Linked DNA regions of Homo sapiens: regions 1, 2, 4 and 5 are each linked to region 3. The links are contacts of gene promoters, found by promoter capture Hi-C in human tissues and cell types (Jung and others, 2019). All regions are on one chromosome and are shown on one strand. The core of a region is centred on a gene start or on the middle of the fragment in contact, and the rest is flanking DNA. Distances in the headings are between cores, read along the strand shown.

The links. The method cuts DNA at HindIII sites, captures the fragments that hold promoters and counts their contacts. A contact is called where the count stands out against the background at its distance.
Region 1: a contact is called between the fragment with the promoter of BNIPL here and a fragment that was not itself captured in region 3, in 3 of the 25 tissues and cell types used here (lymphoblastoid cells, mesendoderm cells and spleen).
Region 2: the fragment with the promoter of SNX27 here is called in contact with a fragment that was not itself captured in region 3 in 2 of the 25 tissues and cell types used here (heart right ventricle and hippocampus).
Region 4: the fragment with the promoter of MLLT11 here is called in contact with a fragment that was not itself captured in region 3 in 4 of the 25 tissues and cell types used here (H1 embryonic stem cells, adrenal gland, lymphoblastoid cells and 1 more).
Region 5: the fragment with the promoter of LINGO4 here is called in contact with a fragment that was not itself captured in region 3 in 1 of the 25 tissues and cell types used here (lymphoblastoid cells).

What each region holds. Positions count from the first base shown.
Region 1 is chr1:151,035,322-151,039,503 of GRCh38, reverse strand. BNIPL (BCL2 interacting protein like) reads right to left here and starts at 2,918. Exons shown (of 10, transcript NM_138278.4): 1 at 2,738-2,918; 2 at 1,842-1,937; 3 at 936-1,000; 4 at 478-708. The coding sequence starts at 2,778. It overlaps PRUNE1 (prune exopolyphosphatase 1), which reads right to left. Exons shown (of 8, transcript NM_021222.3): 8 at 3,791-4,182. The HindIII fragment of the contact is 8,096 bases long and covers 2,043-4,182 here.
Region 2 is chr1:151,610,071-151,614,462 of GRCh38, reverse strand. SNX27 (sorting nexin 27) reads right to left here and starts at 2,413. Exons shown (of 12, transcript NM_001330723.2): 1 at 1,951-2,413. The coding sequence starts at 2,261. LOC124904420 (a long non-coding RNA gene) reads left to right here and starts at 1,095. Exons shown (of 2, transcript XR_007066622.1): 1 at 1,095-1,272; 2 at 2,064-3,946. RefSeq lists a silencer at 2,058-2,497 and an enhancer at 2,538-2,637. The HindIII fragment of the contact is 9,196 bases long and covers 1-4,392 here.
Region 3 is chr1:151,318,058-151,322,442 of GRCh38, reverse strand. The region is part of intron 1 of PI4KB (phosphatidylinositol 4-kinase beta); the gene reads left to right. Among named protein-coding and RNA genes, the nearest start is that of PI4KB, 7.2 kb to the left of the region's middle. The HindIII fragment of the contact is 7,586 bases long and covers 1-4,385 here.
Region 4 is chr1:151,058,595-151,062,435 of GRCh38, reverse strand. It overlaps MLLT11 (MLLT11 transcription factor 7 cofactor), which reads right to left and starts at 2,039. Exons shown (of 2, transcript NM_006818.4): 1 at 1,883-2,039. CDC42SE1 (CDC42 small effector 1) reads left to right here and starts at 2,814. Exons shown (of 5, transcript NM_020239.4): 1 at 2,814-2,957. RefSeq lists an enhancer at 1,902-2,493. The HindIII fragment of the contact is 8,370 bases long and covers 467-3,841 here.
Region 5 is chr1:151,802,792-151,806,871 of GRCh38, reverse strand. It overlaps LINGO4 (leucine rich repeat and Ig domain containing 4), which reads left to right and starts at 1,453. Exons shown (of 2, transcript NM_001004432.4): 1 at 1,453-1,642. RORC (RAR related orphan receptor C) reads left to right here. Exons shown (of 11, transcript NM_005060.4): 11 at 1-801. The HindIII fragment of the contact is 7,603 bases long and covers 1-4,080 here.

The DNA of each region.
Region 1 (4,182 bases), core at 1,669-4,168, 280 kb after region 3:
TAAATGTCAGCTTCAGTTTTCAACACTTAGCTCAGAATCATCTCCTTCATGAAGCCTTTCCTAACATCTCTCAGGCAGAACTGACCTTTTCCTTCTCCCTGTCTACACTGTACCCTACACATATATAGATCATAACCTTTAACTGCAATTATTTTTATATATGTTTATTTCCTACTAAGCAGAGAATTCCCTGTAGGCCCTCTCTTATTCATCTTTATAACCCCAGTCCTATACATGATAGTATGTAACAGGCATTCAATTAAATTTTCCTTAATAAACAATGGGCTCCCCTCCCCCTCTACTGACTACTCTCACATTGGACCTATAAGCCCAAGTTCCATTTGAGGAAACTAATTTTGCTGGCCGTAGCCCTTGGTCCCACCTTATTAGTTCTAACTGCAGTCCCATTAAGTCCATCCTGATCCTTTAGCTCTAGCCTCTACTTCTACCAGCTGAGTCCTCTGGTTTGTTTCCCACCTTCCCATTCAAATTCATGTCCACTGTCCAGCTGCTCCGAGTCTGAAGGTGTCTCCAATTCGTCTATCTCCAGGTCAGAACTGCCATCAGGAGAGGAAGGTGCAGACTGGGTGGGTGAAGCTCCATCATTTCCAGGCCCCTTAGTCAGACTCAGCCGCAACTCTGGGGCAGAAAGACGCTTGCGCATGGGGCGCTGGCCACACAGGGCTAAAGTGCTGGGGGTACCTGCAGCTGGAGAAAGGGGGAAAAAGAGAACCAAGATGGGTGTGTGTGTTGGAGAGCCGAGAGGGCTAGAATTCCTGTATGTGAAAGTGATAATATGGGGTGAATGCTGAAGAAGGACTCACGCAGGGGAGATTTGGGAAAAGGGGGAAATGGAACTGTAAAAGGATAGAGGTGGCATAGCCCTTTACTGGACTAGAATCAAGAACTTGAGGCCTGGTTTCTACTTGACCTACCTGCCTGTGAATCTCCTTTAGGGTCTTCAGGATCTTCAGAAGTGCCAGCCTCCTCAGGAAGCAATCTAGAGGGGAAGAGATTAAAAGGCGGCAGACATATACACCAAAGGCATCAAGCCAGGACTCAATATATAGGTTCTCTCTCCCCACCATGATTTTATCACCTATGCTGCTTTTTTTTTTAATTGTTTTTTTGAGACAGGGTCTCACTCTGTTGCCCAGGCTGGAATGCAGTGGCACAATCACAGCTCACTGCAGCCTCTACCTCCAGGGTTCAAGCGGTCCTCCCACCTCAGCCTCCCGAGTAGCTGGGCCTACAGGTGTGCACCACCACACTTGGCTAAATTTTGTATTTTTGTAGAGATGGGGTTATGCCATGTTGCCCAGAGTAGTCTTGAACTTCTGAGCTCAAGTGATCCACCTGCCTCGGCCTCCCAAAGTGCTGGGATTACAGGCATCAGCCACCACGCCCGGCCTCTGTTTTCTTTTTCCCATTTTTTTCCTTCAAGTCCTAATTCACCATCCCTGTGTCCATTTGCTTTTTTTTTTTTTTTTTTTTTTTTTTTTTGAGACAGAGTTTCACTCTTGTTGCCCAAGCTCGGGTGTAATGGCACAATCTCAGCTCACTACAACCTCTGCCTCCCAGGTTCAAGTGATTCTCCTGCCTCAGCCTCCCGAGTAGCTGGGATTACAGGCATGTGCCACCACACCTGGCTAATTTTGTATTTTTAGTAGAGACGGGATTTCACCGTGTTGGTCAGGCTGGTCTCAAACTCCTGACCTCAGGTGATCCACCCGCCTCGGCCACCCAAAGTGCTGGGATTACAGCCATGAGCCGCCGCGCCATCCCCTCCGTCCATTCGTGACCACCCCTCCCTTCTCCCAGCCACCCTCACACGTCCTCACCTAGGGAATTCTTCATCCTGCCATTCCTCCTTCAGCTCCAACTCCCCATGTCTCAGGGCTGCTCCTAGTTCTGGTGCTTCTGCAATCTCCCTGACCCTAAGACAGCCCCCAAGAAGAAAAGATCAAGGGAACTGAATAGTAGGTAAGAATAATTGAAATGAAGAACAGTAATTGAGATACAGAGCAGAGGATAGGCCTTCAAAAGGACTCAGATCTCTTGCCTCCTATACAGATGCTTCTCTTACCTTCACCACTTGCTAGAAGCAGATTACCTGCTGTTAAGTTTGGGAGCAGACGAAAGATGGAATGTAAAGTTAATCATATTTACCTCTGTAGCAGTTGCTCCACCTACAAAGTTGGGGTGAGAGATGTCCCACATTACAAGTGGCTGGAACCCAGCTAGACCCACCCAGCTATCATTGAGCAAAGTCGGGAAGACGGTACCTAGTTAGGCCTGCCTTTCCTCCACCGAGCTGGGGAGTGGCTAAGGGAAAACATGGCATAAGTGGAGGGGTGGAGGAAGAAGGTAAGGAGAAAGATTTGCCAGAACGAGAACCTGGACCTAAACTCGGTTCTGGTTCAGCTTTCCTGATGGCCATTCTGGAGGGTGAGGGTTAGAAAATAAAAGAACACAGGCAGATTTATCAGGTACAACATATTACAGAAACTTCCTTTATTTTTAAACCAGGGAATTATCCTGGAATCCTGTTCCCCAGTTCCATACCATACTGACATTTCCTACCTAAAACCACCCTCATCTCTTCTCTGCAAACTCTCTTACAGTCTTGTCTCCTTGAGGAACCCGAGATTTGACCCAGTAAGAGCTGGGTGGTGGGGAAGTCTCTCCGGACTGTTTATTCACTGTTACCAATCAAGTGAGCCAAGATCTTACTTACCCAACATCTGTCTTTTTTCCTGCCTCTTGTATAGTTCCCATCTTCACAAGTCTTCCTGCCTCCTTCTTTAAACACCTAGGAGTTGTTGGGGAGCTGGTTGTCCCAGCCCCCAACACTTCCTTACCTCTTTTCTGTCTCAGCTGTTGTAGCTCTTGCCTCCAAGGAGGGAGGTGTGGAAGGGAGGTAACCTCATCTTCAAAACAGGTTTTGCCACTCCTCTCCCCAGGAGCAGGTTTGCCCAAAAGAAAAACCCTGCCTCCTGTGAGGGGGCGGGTTTTGGGGAGGAGAGTGCATTTTCTAGTGGGGGCCAGTCTCGGTTGAGTCTAGGAAGGCAATTTGTTCTCCTTTCCAGACTCCATATATCCCTCTCAAAGTTGCTCTTTACACAAATAAGCAAAAAAACCAGTAGAAACCGTTGTGTTTCTGGCCGGGCGTGGTGGCTCACACCTGTAATCCCAACACTTTGGGAGGCCAAGGCAGGCGGATCACCTGAGGTCGGGAGTTTGAGACCAGCCTGACCAATGTGGAGAAACCCCATCTCTACTAAAAATCCAAAAAAAAAAAAAAAAAAAAAAAAAAAAAAAAATTATCTGGGCGTGGTGACACATGCCTATAATCCCAGCTACTTGGGAGGCTGAGGCAGGAGAATCGCTTGAACCTGGGAGGCAGAGGTTGTAGTGGGCTGAGATTGTGCCATTGCACTCCAGCCAGGGCAAAAAGAGCAAAACTCCATCTCAAAAAAAAAAAAAAAAAGAAAAAGAAACCATTGTGTGTGTTTCTAGGACTGTTATCTTGGATCTACTTTTCAAGCATAAGGAAAACTGGGGAAACGGAAGTATGTTATAAGGAGGTTTCTGGGAGAATAAACAAGTTGAACGGGAGGCTGAGGATGAGGGGAGACAGAAGCCTGTTGCTCCTTATTCCCAAAAAGAGTCAACAGAAAGAAGACATTAAGTATAGTAGGAAGAAGGGGGATCAATTTTGAGGAGACTGAAACAACTATCACAGAGAAAGGCCTGAATACACTTGTAAAAAAAGACAGTAAGACCCCCAAACAGGAAAAAATTATTTAATAGTATAACAAAATGCAAAATAAAGTACCCAAGTTACAAAACATAAATTCCTTTGGTTCATGATCACACCACTATTTTTACCTTCCACATAGCTACAGACATCACACCCTCAAAGTGAAGTCAAACTGTCCCCCTCATACTGAAGATGTCATGCCAAAACCATCACATACCCCACTGTTCAGTGAAACTGTTGGCAACTTACATGGAACAGAGCTGTGGGGTAGGAAAAAGGGGAAAGGGTTGCGTTAAAAAAAATGGGGAGACTCTACACATGCAGAACAAGTTAGTGGGAGGGAGTGCTCTGCTGGGTCAACACGCCATGAACCACACCCCTATTCGTGCTACATGAGGCTGAGTCCTTGCTACAACCAC
Region 2 (4,392 bases), core at 1,164-3,663, 290 kb before region 3:
AATCCCAGCTACTCAGGAGGCTGAGGCAGGAGAATCGCTTGAACCCGGGAGGCGGAGGTTGCAGTGAGCCGAGATCGCGCCACTGCACTCCAGCCTGGGTGACGATCAAAACTCCATCTCAAGGAAAAAAAAAGAATATATTGTCAGACAATACTAGGAATACTAGGAAACAGTATGTAGGACATTAATGAAACAAGAAAGCATCTATTTACAGAAAGGACAGAGGAAAGGTATACTGTCTCCAAACACTGGCCTAGGTGAGCAACTATTTCTTTTTTTTTTTTTCAATCAACTCTCCCAGGTTAAAACCAACCATTTCTTGAGGTGGAAGAGGTGAGGAAACAGAATGAGTGGACACCATGGAGTTAAGAATGTCAAGGATAAGGGTAGATGGCACGAGATGAGTAAGAAGGAATGGATTTCTCTATAAGGCAGATTTTCAAAAAACTATCCCTTTTGCAAACCTACTGTTTTACAAGAGGCAACAGAAGGTTGCGGAAATTACAATTAAAATTTATAAAAAATGAGAACGATTTCAAGTGGGCAAATCGAAATATGGAGGGAGAGAGTAAAAGTGTAAAAAAGGAATGCACAACATAGATTCAGTAAGCAGAAACACAGCACTGAAGACTGCTGAGGAGAACGGAGACAACGCGAGCACACACCACCTGCAAGTCAACCGGCAATCACTATCCGAATTTCAATACGAAGTACAAAAAGGCAAATGTAACACCTAGATTAGGGTAATGGAGGCGGTGTGCACAGAGATTGCAAGACAAGGCAGCATCCCGCAAGAGCATGGAGGGATGTGGTGGGGGAGGCGTATGAAGGGGGAGGGACTGCAGCAGGGGAGAGAGGGTGGGCTGCAGCAGCAGAAGGCGCCTTAAAAAACAGAAGAAAGGAAAAGCAGCCTAGGGGAGGGAAAGACTAGGACAAAGTCAAGTGTGGGATCACAGGAGGATAGAGTAGAAGAGGCAGCAGAGACGGGCATGCCCTAAAAAAGCAAAGCGGTCAAAGACCCAAAAAGGGCTTGAAGTAGTTTTGAAGGAGGAGGAGTTACAAGGGGTCTACCATAAACCTGACTAGGAGGAGGCATGAGTATAGAGCAGGAGTGAAGGCAGGAGGCCAGGGAAGGGATGCTCTCAGAGGGGTGTGCTGATGGAGACGCTAGATTCCAAATTAGGGTGTGATACGGGGCCAACCGAGAAGAGAAACTACGGTGTCAAATCCCACGCCCCCCACCCCAAAGGCATGCAAGGGTCAGAAAGCAAGGTAAACTCTTGGAGTAGAAATACAAAAAGGAGGGGAGGAAAGGGGCACACGGTGGGATGGAAAAATTTAGGGGCAGCGTAACCATGAGGAGAGGGTAACTAAGGAAAGAAAAAGGAGACGAGCGGGGAGGGATGGTGTTTCCGGAGGAAAAGTAGGAGCAGACCAGAGGTCCTGCCTACTTGGTCTGGAGGGCAGAAGGGGCAGTCCACGGGGGCGGAGGGGAGTGGTGGAGAACGAAACTGCGATGCTGAAGATGAGAACTTGGGGGGGACACGGTACTGGCTGGATCAGAAAACGAAACGCCGTCAGTAAGGAGCAGATGAGGTTCCTTCTGAGCAAGACGAGGGGGAGTGAGGAGCAGAATGCAGCACGCCAAACGGGAAGGCAAAGGGGCGGAGAAGAGCCCAGAGTAATCGGGGCACAGGGAGGAGCACTGGGGGCGCAAGGGCATCAGCTGGAGACGACGGGGTGGGAGACCGGCGTCGCAGAAGCCCCGGGGCGGGTGGTGGGAGGGCAGCCCACAAGGAGGGGCCCGGCTGCGGAGGCCTGAGGGGCGGGGGTCCGGAGGCCGGCTCGGAGCTCGGGGGAGGTGCGGCCTGGGGGTGACAAGGGTAGCGAGGAGTGCAGGGGCAGGAGGGGCGCGGGGAGGATGGGGCGGCGGGTAGCCCCGATACTCACACCTCCAGGATGCGGTCCCCCTTGCGCACCCCGGCCCGATCGGCCGCCCCCCCGGGCAGCACGGCGCTCACATGCTGCAGCGGCGCGTACAGCTCCCCGTTGATGCTCCGCAGTTGCCCGCCCTCGCTCACTTGGCCCCGCACGTTGAAGCCGTAGCCGGACTCGGACTTGACGATGCGCACGACCCGCGGGCCGCCGCCTCCCCCGCCGCCGTTCCCGGCGCAGTGGAGCCCAGACCCCCCGCCGCCGCCGCCACCTCCGTTCCTGTGAGGGGCTGAGGGATGAATCCCTTCCCCGTCCTCGTCCGCCATCTTGCGAGCAGGCGAGCCGTACCCCCGCCCCCTACGCCTCCAAGGCCTCCCGGCGCGTGCTCGCCCTGCCTGGCAGCCGGACGACCCCCGACGCGCGCGCCCGATCCGCCGGCCGCGGGACCGACTCGGCCACCGAGCTGCTGGCGCGGGGTGAAGAGGAGGCAGGGGGCGGGCGAAAAGCGGACAATCGGGCACCGTGGGGCCTCCTGGGAGATGTAGTTTATGGGTGGCGGGGGCGGGGAGCGGTCTGGGCCTGGGCCTGAGCCGAGGTTATAAGACGCAGTTCGGAAGCAAGGCCTGCCGGGAGTTGTAGTTTATCTTTCATGCTGGGTTAGGAGTTTGATCTGCTGGGTGGGGAGAGTATAACCCAGCACCCAGCGTGGTAAAATGATTCAGTTCTTGATGCGGACCAAGTTTTTCGCCCCCCCCCCTTTCATTTCATAACCTCTAAAAAACAATAATGTTAGAATAACTTAACGTTTGTGATTCAACACAGTCTTAAATTATATCAACTCATTTTTTGGCACAGTAACTTATATGTTGACCAGGGCCCAACAACCTGTGAGGCAACCGGATCACGATTAGCTTCCCTATTTTACGTTATTAGGAAACAACCTTAGAGTGCTCAAAGTCATCCAGCTACTAAGTATCAGGAACTAAGGCCCAGTTATTGTGCAACTTTCTTGTCCTGTATTGCAACTACAGTCATGTGCCACATAAGGACATTTTGGTCTACAATGGACTGCAAACACGAGGGAGGCCCCCTAAGATGATAATGGAGCTGAAAAATGTCTATCACCTAGTGGCACAGTAGCCACCATAAGGTCATAGCACAAGCATTACTCACATGTTTGGAGTGATGCTGGTGTTAACAAACCTGCACTGCCAGTCATGTGAAAGTATAGCACATATGATTATGTACAGTACATAATACTTGATAATGGTAAGAACTATGTTACTAGTTTATGAATTCACTGTAGTTTTTATCACTATTTTAGAGTGTACTCCTTCTACTTTTTTTTTTAAGTTAACTGTAAAGCAGCCTCAGGCAGGTCCTTCAGAAGGTATTCTAGGTATTCTAAGTATTGTGATTTTTTTCCACGTATTCCAAGTATTGTGTTTTTTTGTTTTGTTTTGTTTTTTTGTTTTTTTTTTTTTTAAGATGGAGTTTCGCTCTTATCGCCCAGGCTGGAATGCAATGGCACGATATCGGCTCACCGCAACCTCTGCCTCCCAGGTTCAAGTGATTCTCCTGCCTCAGCCTCCCAAATCCCTTGCGATTAAACGCATGCGCCACCATGCCTGGCTAATTTTTTGGTATTTTTAGTAGAGACAGGGTTTCACCATGTTGGCCAAGCTGGTCTCGAACTCCTGACCTCAGGTGATCCAACCACCTCAGCCTCCCAAAGTGCTGGGATTACAGGTGTGAGCCACTGTGCCTGGCCCCAGTTATTGTTACCATCAGATGACAGCTCTGTGCATGTTATTACCCATGAAGACCTTCCAGTGAGACAAGAGATGGAGGTGGAAGACAGTGAAATTGATGATCCAGATCTGGTGTAGGCATAGGCTATGTTTGTGTTTAAGTCTTAGTTTTTAACCAAAAAAAAAAGTTTAAAACATAAAATTAAAAATTGCCTTAAATAGAAAAAAAGCTTATGGAATAAAGATATAAAGAAAGAAAATATTTTGTACATCTGTACAATGTGTTTGTGTTTTAAGCTAACTGTTATTACAAAAGAGTCCCCCCAAATTTTTAAAGGCTGGGTGTGGTGGCTCATGCCTGTAATACCAGCACTTTGGGAGACCGAGGTGGGAGGATTCCTTGAGCCCAGGAGTTCAAGACCAAACTGGGCAACATAGTGAGACCCCATCTCAACAAAAAATAAAAAATTAGCTGGTGGCTGAGCGAGACTATATCTAAAAAAAAAAAAAAAGCAGCTGGGCATGATGGCACATACCTGTAGTCCCAGCTACTTAGGAGGTTTAGGTGGGAGGATCGCTTCAGCCTAGGAGGTCAAGGCTGCAGAGAGCTGAGATCACACCACTGTACTCCAGCCTGACCATCAGAGTGAGATCCTGTCTCCAAAAAACAAAGATGAGATCTCACAAAATATGGGATGAGGACTCA
Region 3 (4,385 bases), core at 912-3,411:
AGTAGAAAGTTGTTTGCCTGGAATCTTTTGAGGTGATAAGAAATGGGGAGCTAGGTTAAGCGATAGCATCTCCTCCCCAGAGAGTCCTCTGCAGACATGTATTTTAACTGCTCAGTCACACAGAACATATGTGTATATCTTCTGTGTCTTCTCCAGCTGCTGCTCTGTGTGACCTGTAACAATTCCTTGTCACTCAGACCAGAATTCCCTACTTTGCCCAGTTGGGAGCTGTGGAACTCAGTCAGTTGTCAACTTTTCCTAGGGGCCAGCTGTTAGGCTGTGGAACAGGGGAGGCCTCTTCCATTTCCCTTCCAGTCTGACTGGAAGGAGAATTTAGGTTCCCAGTGTGAAGTGTAGAGCCTCAGTTGTCTGAACCCCCTTGAAGGCCATAGGAGTCATTTAATATTAAAAATTTAGATTGTCTTCCGTCACTTTTTTCTTATTCCTCTGACTTAGAAGGGGAAGGCTGTTGAATACAGGACTTTTTCCTTCACCTTTTCTTTTGCTTTCCAGTCCTTTCATTTTCTTTAGAACAGTTACCCTCAAAGGCTTTTTTTTTTTTTTTTTTTTAAGACAGAGTCTCACTCTGTCGCCCAGGCTGGAGTGCAGTGGTGTGATCTCGGCTCACTGCAAGCTCCGCCTCCTGGGTTCATGCTATTCTCCTGCCTCAGCCTCCCAAGTGGCTGGGACTACAGGTGCCCACCACCATGCCCGGCTAATTTTTTGTATTTTTAGTAGAGACGGGGTTTCACTGTGTTAGCCAGGATGGTCTCCATCTCCTGACCTCGTGATCTGCCCTCCTCAGCCTCCCAAAGTGCTGGGATTACAGGCGTGAGCCACCATGCCCTGCCCACAAAGGCATATTTTCTTGGCATTCAAAACTAAATGAAGCAAGCTGGGCATGGTGGCGGGTGTCTGTAATCCCAGCTACTTGGGAGGCTGAGGCAGGAGAATCGCTTGAACCTGGGAGGCGGAGGTTGCGGTGAGCCAACATTGCGCCACTGCACTCCACTCCAGCCAGGGCAACAGAGCAAGACTCTGTCTCAAAAAAATAAATAAAATAAAAATAATAGTAATAATAAATAGCTAAAGCAATTTAACCCTATTCCCTACAACACCTTCTTCTCCATATGACTTGCTTCAGATGCAGGCAGTGCCTGGGTTCCTGAGAGGCCAGGGAAGAGACCCAGCTCCAGTTTGGTGGTTTCTAGTGGTAGAGCTGCTTATATAGGAGAGGAGTCTGTTTTTTCCTGCACCTCTCAACACTGTCTAGCTCCCTGAGGAGTAAAAGCTGCCGGGAGGGAGAGTCTGTTCAGTAGCAAAATCCTCTGAATACTGTGATGTGATTCTTAGCTGAGCCCTGGGAGTTTTTCTTTTGTCTGTGAGATAAAAGAGGTGATAGTATCCTTATTTGCCTTCCTGGTGCCAGTAATAATCCCAATCGTAGTTAATTGGGGCAGGCATCTGCTAAATTTTCTAGTGAGGTCTGAGACACTATTATGTGGGAGAATGTCTGAACTGTATTTCCCTTGAAAGTTTTGAAAAGTGTACTTCTAGGAGCTTTCAGTGACTTAAAAGTCTGTGGACTAGAGGGAGAGGAAAGGATGTACCAAACATAGAGACTGAGAAAAAGAAGTTGATTGTTTAAGATGATTGAGGCTATCACATGAGTTTCTAAGCAGACCTAAAAGGTAGTGGTCCCCGTTGAATCGGTGACCCTCTGATGAGAGTGCCCTACGAAGGTGTGGCAGGGAATGATTAAAGCTTCCTTCTTATTATTCCTGTGCAACTCACAGTTGCGAGTAGGGACAGATCCACATAGGCAGCCATGCTGGTTCTACTGCTCAGAGGGCACTACCTAATTTTGGGAGAGAGCATAGTGAAAGAGTTGCCACCTTCTTACCAATACCAAGCTCAATCTGCATCAGGGATATTAAATTCAGGAATGAACTTGCTTGGCAGAGTTGGCAGAAAGAAACAGAAATAGCCTTTTTTGGTGATCTCTGAGAACAGAAGAGTTCCCCATCCGTCTTTCTGCAAAACTTTAGTGGTGACTGCTGGGAGGCAGGGAGCTGGACTATATGATATTGGGCAGTTAAAAGTAACCTGGGGCCGGGCGCGGCAGCTCACACCTGTAATCCCAGCACTTTGGGAGGCCGAGGTGGGCAGATCACGAGGTCAGGAAATCGAGACCATCCTGGCTAACATGGTGAAACCCTGCCTCTACTAAAAATACAAAAAATTAGCCGGGCGTGGTGGCGGGCATCTGTAGTCCCAACTACTTGTGAGCCTGAGGCAGGAGAATGGCATGAACCCGGGAAGCGGAGCTTGCAGTGAGCCAAGATTGCACCACTGCACTCCAGCCTGGGCGACAGAGCGAGACTCCGTCTCAAAAAGAAAAAAAAAGTAACCTTAACATTTCAGACGTACAAGAACAGACACTGGAAGGGTGGTGGTGGAAAACAGCCTCCCAGAGGGACTAAAGAATCTCTAGGCCTCCTTATTCCACCTACCCAAAGTATATGCATCCAGGGTCACCGGGGTTGAAGGTGATGTCACTAATATTTTGAAATTACCTGTATTCCAACTCTACAAAATCTTTCCTCTTGCTCATGCTCTTGAGTGTGTCTTAGACTCACTCTATTAGCATTTTTGTGAAGAGGCCTCTGAGTCTGAGTCCTTTGTTAGCTATAGTCAGATTCTGGAGCCAGGTTGATCTGATGAAATTTCCCCAGTTCTGCACTGATTCCAGATTTGGTGAGGCTCTGAAGGATTGTTCTTGGAGAGCAGTGGCTTTGGTCAGCAGTGTTCTTTCATTGAACTTCCTTCCAACAGTCCCTCCAGAGGAGGTGTTCTTTGTTTTGTGACTCCTGTTCCTCCCTGTTCTTTGGAAGGCCTAGATCTATGAGTCCTAGTCTGATTTCTTTTTGCCTTTTCAATTGTCCCTCCAGTTGTTAGAATGTGTGTATGACAGTGGGGGGAGTGGTATTGGGGCAGAAAAGGCTGTCATAAGTATTTCTGGAAGATTCTCAAACAATTGGAACTCTTTGCTTCCCTTATAAAATAATATAAGTTTTATGTTACACACACACTGGTTAGTAACCTTTTAGGTGATGAGGATTCAACTAGCATTTCTTTTTTTTTTTTTTGAGACAGAGTCTCGCTGGTCTTGAACTGCTGACCTCAAAGTGATCCACCTGCCTCAGCCACCCAGTGCACTGGGATTACAGGCATGAGTCACTGTGCCCGGCCTCAACTAGCATATATTGAGTACTACTATGTATCAAAGACTGTGCTAGATTCTTTCATACACGTGATGGTATTTGTTCCACATAGCAACAATGAGAAGGAAGTGTTTTTTCCCAATTTGCAGTTGAGGATAAATGGCTTGCATAAGTTGCACATTTCTGAAAGGCTGAATGAGGATTTTCAACCCCAGCCTATTTGCCTTCAAGTCCAGAGCTCTTTCCATTATATGTTAGCAGCCACGGCACTGGAGAAAGAGGGTGTGATGTCATGATGTCAGACAACCAGAGAAACGGCACAGCTTCAGCAGGGTTGATGATGGTTGTTTTAGAGCTGCCTTCTTCTAAGTGAAGCCTGGCATGGTATTTACTGGCCTTTATTTTCTGGGAACTTCGAGTTTAAAAGGGAAGGTAAAAAAATACCTGTAACCAGAAAAATATATCAAGACTTTAATTTTATTTATTTATTTATTTATTTATTTATTTGAGACAGAGTTTCGCTCTGTTGCCCAGGCTGGAGTGCAGCGGTGCGATCTCGGCTCACCACAACCTCTGCCTCCCGGGTTCAAGCGATTCTCCTGCCTCAGCCTCCCAAGTAGCTGGGATTACAGGCATGCGCCACCACGCCCAGCTAATTTTGTATTTTTAGTAGAGACGAGGTTTCTCCATGTTGGTCAGGCTGGTCTCGAACTCCTGACCTCAGGTAATCCGCCTGCCTCAGCCTCCCAAAGTGCTGGGATTACAGGCGTGAGCCACCGCGCCCGGCCTTTTTTTTTTTTTTTGAGACAGAGTCTCACTCTGTCTCCAGGCTGGAGTGCAATGGCGTAATCTCGGCTCACTGCAACCTCCACCTCCCAGGTTCAAGCAATTCTCCGGCCTCAGCCTCCTGAGTAGCTGGGATTACAGGCGCCTGCCACCACGCCTGGCTAATTTTTGTATTTTTAGTAGAGACGGGGTTTCACCATGTTGGCCAGGATGGTCTCGATCTCTTGACCTCGTGATCTGCCCACCTCGGCCTCCCAAAGTGCTGGGATTACAGGCGTGAGCCACTGCGCCTAGCCAAGACTTTAATATTAAATAAAGATGGCTGGGCAAGGTGGTTCACACCTGTAATCCTAGTGCTTTGGGAGGCTGAGGCAG
Region 4 (3,841 bases), core at 790-3,289, 260 kb after region 3:
AGCCAAGATTGCACCACTGCACTCCAGCCTGGGCAACAGAGCGAGACTCCATCTTAAAAAAAAAAAAAAAATAGAATCATGGGGGGAAAAAATCATAGAATTTTAAAACTAGAAGACATCTTAGAAATTAATGACTTGGGAAGACTTCCAGCCAGTTTGTATAGAATCCAGATCTCATAATTCCCAATCTGATCCCTTTTTGTGTTGTACATGGATAGTTGCCAACAGCTTTATATAACCCTATACCAGTATTCCCAAAACTTAAAAGAATTTTTAGTTGCTGAAGAATAGATTTTCCGTGGTTTAGGTGATTGTTCCTGTAATTGTGATCTGAATGGGGAAAAGCAAAGGGCAGTAGAGCAAGCTAGAATCTGAGAAAAAAAAAAAAGCTCTTCGACAAACTGACTCCTTTTCTTACAACCAGAGTATGTATAAAAAACTGCTCAAACAGTCCCTGAGTGTTTGGTAGAGCTATCTTGCAATTTAAAAAGCTAAAGCAAATTTTATGAAATATTAACTCAAAAGGCCTAAAATCTCTATGTCATTGACCCAGAGACATGTACACAGGGTACCAAATACATTCAAGAAAGACATGCATGCAAACATACGTGGCATTAAAATCAAGTCAAGAACATAAAGTAATACTACACAGAAAATTGAAGTTAAAATGCTATTCACTAATGTAAGTAGTAATGACATTTTTGATTTAATATAGTATGGATTTAATTATCAAATACTCCAAATTTCGCAAAAGATCCTTTTTTGGCTAGCTTCCCCTTCCCCTCCACAAATGCTCTCCAGCCCTACTTCATCTATCTTTACATCTTTCATTATCTTAAATGGTATCATTTACTTAAAGGGTTTTGACAGTGCCTTGTACCACAATATATGTTCAATAAATGCTTCCCACTATCCTTCACTTTAAATTATCCGGGTATTTTAGGCAAAGGCAATATCTAATTATCACTCTGTTCTTAGAGATACATGATTAGCAAATGTATAGATTAGAAAGATACACTCTCGGAGCCACACAGACACGCCCAAATATCCTTTGTCCAGACCCTTTGTGGGCATCCAAGGCCTACTCAACAGGGCCTTGCTGTGTCATGCTGCCACCATGGGGAAGGGGGAAGGACAAGGTGGTGGTGGTGGTAGAGGGGAGCAGAACCTCTCTGACATCTCATAATGTGTGCCTCAGTCAGAGCTTGGATTTTCCTACTAGCATTCCTCCACCAATTCCACTGAGCTGCAAATCATTCTTTTCCAGAATCTGTCCCCATACCTAGCTCCTGTGGGCTATACTGATTTCACTATGGAATCAGGCAGTTCTCCAACACAGAGGCCCCCACCTTTCCTACCCTAGGCTGCCTCTTTCTTTGGAGCAAAGATTCGAGGTGGAATGAAAGAGATTATCCAAAGAAAGGTCAGGATTACACCCAACATTATCCCATATAACCCCCTCCCAAACTCCCTCCTACAGAGAAACATAGAACACTACAGAAAAAAATTGCAAGTATAGGGAAGTAGAGGACAGAGAGATACAGTAGGACTAAAAATTAAACAGCTGGTAAAACAAATTATGGTTTGAAAAGGAAGATAAGTAGACTGAAGATATTAAATACACAGGACAATAAATTACAGAAAAGGATACTTGAAATGAGGTAGGTGCTGAGAAATAACTACAAGTAAATTGTTAGAGATTAATGGTCTGTATAAGGTAACAAGGCATGGATGCTGTGAAGAAATAACTACCCATTGTTCATAGCGCCCCCTTCTCTCCTCTTCAGCTGTCCCCCACCTCATGTGGGGTCTTTCAATCTAACCATAAGCAGCCGCTCTTCTATCTTTGCAGCCCCCTGCCCCCTCCCTCAGTTTGGTTTACCTGTTATCAATCAATTACTGGCGTGTTCCAAAGATGGAGGGAGTGCCTCGGGAGCTCCGGGGTCTGCGCCGGGCTGGAGAAATACAAAGCTGTTGGGGCTTTGACGGCTTTGTCTTCTCACTCCTTTTCCCTCTTCAGTGACTGAGTCTGTCAGTTCACTCTCCCCCTGCAATGCAGCCCCTCCTAAGAAGGGCGGAAGGATTCCCCGCCCCCTCCTGCCTGACTCGGCTAATTCAAATGATAGGTTCCAGAACACTTGAGGGAAGGAGAGACGATGAAAGCATCTCCCTAGGCTCATTGGTCTGCGCTATTATTCCCGATCTCTTCCAGCACCCCCGTGCTGACTGGGGGCCCAATGAATGAGCAGTTAATTGCCCTCTAATTTTAGGTCCTCTAATTTATGGATTTGAAATCTTAACTCTAGACTACAATGGAAAGGAGGAGTATTCCTTTCTTCCACAATTTAAGGACTTTAGGTTACAAAGTATTTTTAAGAATCAGAGTATTTTTCCACCCCTTCTCCCAATCCCTGCTCCTCCAGACTCGCCTCTCTACCCTCACAATGGGTAAATAAACCTAGTCCTATTCCATTTTGGGTAGAGCACAATAAATTTGGGGTGGGGGGCGTGCTTCTGCGAATCTCTGAACTTGGTTAGGTCTGGGGGTTTGGGGGGCTCCGCTTCGTTTTGCCCCGAAATGCCTGGCGAGTAAAGGGAACGTGAGATTCCGGGGGCCCCAGCTTGGGTGCCAGGGCCTCATCTAGGTGTCCGCATTCTCCAGTTCTCCCCGCAGGGGCGGCGGCCTTGAGGGGCTGCAGAGGCACCCTCCCACGTCCCGCGCAGTGCAGTGCCTCCGCAGTCCAGAGGGGAGCAGTGCGCCGGGCTCCGAGCCGGACGGGTTTCGTAATCGCGTCGCCGCCGCTTCCGCCCTCAGCCGGCCCCACCTCTGCCGGCTCGTACTCGGCTCCCCCACCTCGCCGCAGAGCTAGCCCGGGAAGCCCACACTGGCGGCCACGGAGCAGAGTCCCTCACCCCCACCAGCTGTAGCTGAACGTCTGGATGGTGGAGAAGAGCAGGTGAGGCCGTGCAGTTGGTCCCCTGGCCCGCCTGCCGCGCCGGCCGGGCCAGGCGGAGACACACCGGATGCGGGGTGTGGGGGAGGCGGGTGTCCTGGGCTGCAGAGATGCTGGGGTGGTGGGAAAGGGGTGCGCGCCCGGGGTGGCCGTAGTCATCCACGCTCCTGGGGTGCGCAGGCTGAGGCCGCTGAAGAGTAGAAGGAAAAGAAGGAACTGGAATGTTGGGGGAGGTGGGAGGGAGAGGGTCCGAAAGATTCCCAGAGAGGTCCCAGTCCGGTTAAGGGTTGAGAACAGCAGAGAACTTCTAGGTAGAGTTGTGTAGTGGGGGGAGACAGATACGGAATCTGTGTGATTGAATATATTTGGGGAGGGGAGGCTTAGGGCCTAGCCCTCTTTCCTCTTAAGCCCCCAGAAGACCTTTCCTGGGGAAGGGAAGGTTGGTGTTGGGCCTGTCACTTGGCTGAAATATGGAGTCCACACCGCTTCTCCAGAGTCCCTCAGCAGCCCTCCATGTCTCGGGGTCTCCACACAGGGACCAGCTGCTGCCCCGGGCTTCTAGCCAGAATTGCCCATGCCATTCTCTCGATTCTTTCTTTCTCTCCAGCTGCTTCATGTGAGGGCTTGTCAGGCCGCGGGTTGGAGGCCTTAGGGCCAGAGGCGGTGGGACCGGGAGAACCGGTTTGGGGCCCGAACAGGACCAGAGAACTAGCCTGTACATCCTTCCTCCCTGGCACCTCTTTCCCATCCCTTCTGCTCACCTCCCAACAGCTCTGAGACCCTCAAGTCCTAGTATGATCTTGGTGGGGGCGGGGGGTGGCTTTCCCGGTTCCATATTTCACTCTTGCCATTTGGAACTCAGAGAGGTCGAGTTCTGAGCACCACTT
Region 5 (4,080 bases), core at 204-2,703, 490 kb before region 3:
GGATGAGGATGAGAGGCTGGAGATAATTGTTTTATGGGATTTGGGTGTGGGACTAGGGTACAATGAAGGCCAAGAGCATCTCAGACATAGAGTTAAAACTCAAACCTCTTATGTGCACTTTAAAGATAGACTTTAGGGGCTGGCACAAATCTGATCAGAGACACATATCCATACACAGGTGAAACACATACAGACTCAACAGCAATCATGCAGTTCCAGAGACACATGAACCTGACACAATCTCTCTTATCCTTGAGGCCACAGCTTGGAGGAGCCTAGAGGCCTCAGGGGAAAGTCCCAATCCTGAGGGACCCTCCCAAACATTTCCATGGTGCTCCAGTCCACTGATCTTGGGTCTGGGGTGATCCAAATACCACCCCAGCTCCAGCTGTCTTCTACCACTAGAAGACCCAAGAGAAGCAGAAGTCGCTCGCACTGGTCAGTCGGAAGGCAAGATCAGATCCTGGAGGACTTTCCTGGCCTGCCCGCCAGCCCTGCTCTTGTTGTGGAGAAGGAAGCAGATGTGATCACATCACCCCGTCATTGGGCACCGCTGACTCCAGCATGGAGGACACCAGGGAGCAGGGCCTGGGCCTGTTTCCCCAGCTGTGATCTTGCCCAGAACCTCTCTTGGCTTCATAAACAGCTGTGAACCCTCCCCTGAGGGATTAACAGCAATGATGGGCAGTCGTGGAGTTGGGGGGGTTGGGGGTGGGATTGTGTCCTCTAAGGGGACGGGTTCATCTGAGTAAACATAAACCCCAACTTGTGCCATTCTTTATAAAATGATTTTAAAGGCAAGAAGTGTGTGTGTCAGAGGGTGGGGGAGATTCTTAAATTAGATTACCTGCATGCCTGCTCTCCAGTCTCATTCCTGGGTCAAGACTCAGGTTTCCAGCTCAGCAATCCATCAGCATTATACAGATCCAACCCACCCTCACCCGACCCCTGCAGTTTCTCCCCAGGTGGAGCAGTCCCTCAGTGAGGACTGTGAACGAATCTTCAGGAACCCCCACTGTAGGAGCCTCAAACTGAGCCCCACGGGAGATGCTCTAGACTGAGAACTTCCCATAAATGATACCCACGGGGAACGTTTAGATTTAGAGGTTGCACAGAATTGCTCCACATCTGGGAGACCAAAAGACAGTCCTCTGGAAGGTGGCTGGCCCAAGCTCCCCAGTGGGGGAATCAGGATGTCAGAGAGATCCTCTAGAACCTGCTGTTCTTGCTATTGCATGACCCCTCCCTGGCACCAGAGCCTCCCTCCTGGCTCCCTCCCCTGTCACTTGCCAGCCTGTAGTGGTGCTTGCTGCAGCCCTCCCTGGTTGCTTTATTTATTTATTTTGCACCAACAGGGTTGCTGCAGACTCATTCTTGCCTGGTTTAAAAAGAGAGAGAGAGAGAGAGGAAAAAAAAAAAGGAGAAATGCTTTCTGGCTCTTTTCTCCACCTCAGTCTTGGCAGCAGCGGCCGCAGCAGCAACAGCAGCAGCAGCAGCGGCAGGCAGCAGCCGGGCAGCCAGGCAGCGGGGGTTGAGGCACACAGGGAAGGTGCAGGGGCCTGAGGTGCAGCTCGAATGGGACAGGGCCCCCAGCGCTGGACAGATGCAGTGCCAAACTTGATGCCACCTTCCAGCTTCTCCGGTAAGTGCCCCCACTCTCTGTCCCAAAGATGCAGCCGCCCTTTTCCATAACATTCTCCGAGACAGGCCAGACTAGGGGCCAGACAGGCCCCTCAAGGCAAGAGGGTTTGGGCCCCCACACTGCTAACAATTAATCCTGGCCCCATGGGACTTTGAGGGGGAAACTCAAATATCCCAAGTACCCCTGGGTGGAAGGGCTCCAAGGAGACCTCCCTTCCATCTCCCCAGTGCTTCCCCTTCCTCTGGAAGGGTTTTTCTCCACAATCGGTGTGGATCTTCCAGAAATCTTTCCCCCAGGAACCCTCTCCCCACACAGTTCCCATTTGTCAGTCAGGTGTGCTTTAAAGAGGATACAGGATACCCAGGTTCAAAAGTGTCTCTGGACTGCCACATAAAGACAAGAAAAAGGCTCCCTACCCTTGAGGGGTGATGCCTTCAAGGGTCATGTCTTGGTGATGTCCCCACCCCACTGAAGGGACAAAAAAGTGGTTCTGACATCTCGCTTCCTGCAAAGTGGCCGGAAGCCGGTCCTGCAGCCATGGAGGTTGGCAAGGGAAATTTGTGATTAAATTAGCCACCTTAGAAATAAAATAGGTTGCTCCAGCTCCCTCAGCCCCTGGCCCAGCGGACTCAGGGGAAACTCACAGGAGCAGGAAGGAAGAAAGCTGGGTTACATGCTTCACTGCACTTTTGCTGAATGCAGAGCGAGGATGGGCAGGAACTGCAGCAGTAGTGATGAAGAGCTAGCTGTCAGGTGGACTTCCCAGAACAAGCCTAGGGAGAACAAGGGAGGCTGGGCCATCTTTCCCGGGAGAGCTCTGGGCATGCCACAGAGACCTGTTAGGTCAGTTTGGGGCGAGAAGAGTCTGCTCTGCAGTCTTTGCCCCACGTTATTCTTTTTCATCCCCAAGCCTCACACCAGTTTTCTGCATCCCTCTGCTCTTTTGGCCTCTTTCTTTAGTTTCCCAACTAGGACAATCCTCTCAAGTGGCTGTAGGATAGCCACTAGAATGATCCTTCTAGGAGGTGGAGAGTGGGAAGGAAAGGGGAAGAAATGACCATCTCTTAAACTGCCTCTCCTAAGTTCCACATGAGAAAAAACAGGGCATGTAGTAGAAAGCTGACCCTGTAGAGCCCAGAGAGCCTGAAGCCCACAAGCCCAAAGGTGATCAGGATTGCCGCTCAGCAGAGACTCAGACGCGCTGTATCCCAGAGAGCATCCATGGGCTTTTGCTCCTATCTCTGTAGCCATCCCTTGCCAATTCCAGTACTTCCTCTGCCTTGGGGTCCCTGTTGACATCTAACAGGATGAGTCAGGGGCCCTCATCACCTAGAGGGCCCCTTCTCCTCTGTCACCTCAGCCATTGTAGTCACCATCTTCCTGAGGGTTCCCGGAACCTGGTACCCAGAAACTGACTATAAGTCTACAGGCTCTGCACACTGTCTGTGCCCAGATACCTGCTGTGCCAGCCAACGGCTCCCTTCCTCCCCATCCTACAGCACTTGGTCAGATGCTGTCTCTCCTCACTTATCTATGCTCCCTGGTCCACAATCTGTCTCTTGGGAATTTCTCAGGCAGCTCAGGCCAAAAGGGACAAGAGCTCTCCCTCAGATCCACACACTGGACCAGAATCCAAACACCATTAAGGAGGGATATGAGGGAAGCCCAAGACTGAAGACCAAGCAACAGAACTCAAAACCTGGGCATCCTTTGGGTCTCTCACACACCCCAACTTCAATTGCAGTAGAGAAGCAGTTGCCCCTGGGCTCTTGCAGGGGATTCCCAGCTTCCCAGTCAAGTGCCTCCTGCATCCTATGCCACAGCTAATGTACAGCTTGGCAGTTGTCCACACAGGCATTTTGGGGAGATTGGATCTTGTTAGTCCAGGGCTCAGGCCCTGGGCCAGGCTGGAAGAGGGCTCAGCATGGGGGTGGAGCTGAGGCCTGCATGTTTCCCAGCCTTGGGTGAGCTAGTCAAGGTGAGGACCTCTCCAGTCAGGACAGGGAACTCTGGGCCAAGGACATGATCTCCCTGAGCCTTAAGCAAAACTATGGGTACATAATGTGAAAGAATAAGCGTGAGCAGAGAGGGACAGAGCAGAGCTTGGGAAGAGCAGGTATCAGGGAGAAGGGACCTGAGATCCTCCTGGATCTCACAGACATCAGGAAACCCCATACAGAAAGACTCAGTACCTCCCTGCTGTTCCCTGCCCCATTCCCATAAGCTTTTTCCCCACAGAAATCAGGCTTGGCTAGGGTTCCATGAGCCAGTAAGCACTTGGCTGGTTATCCAGGGCTGGAAGAGGGAGGAAAGCAGAGATTCCCCAAAGAGAAGCTCCAGGAAGCCCCAGGGAGGTGGCACACAAGAATTCTTCCTGGTTCTGTGCCCTACTTATTGGCAATGCTGAGACAGATAGACCAATTTCTCTCCTCTCTAAG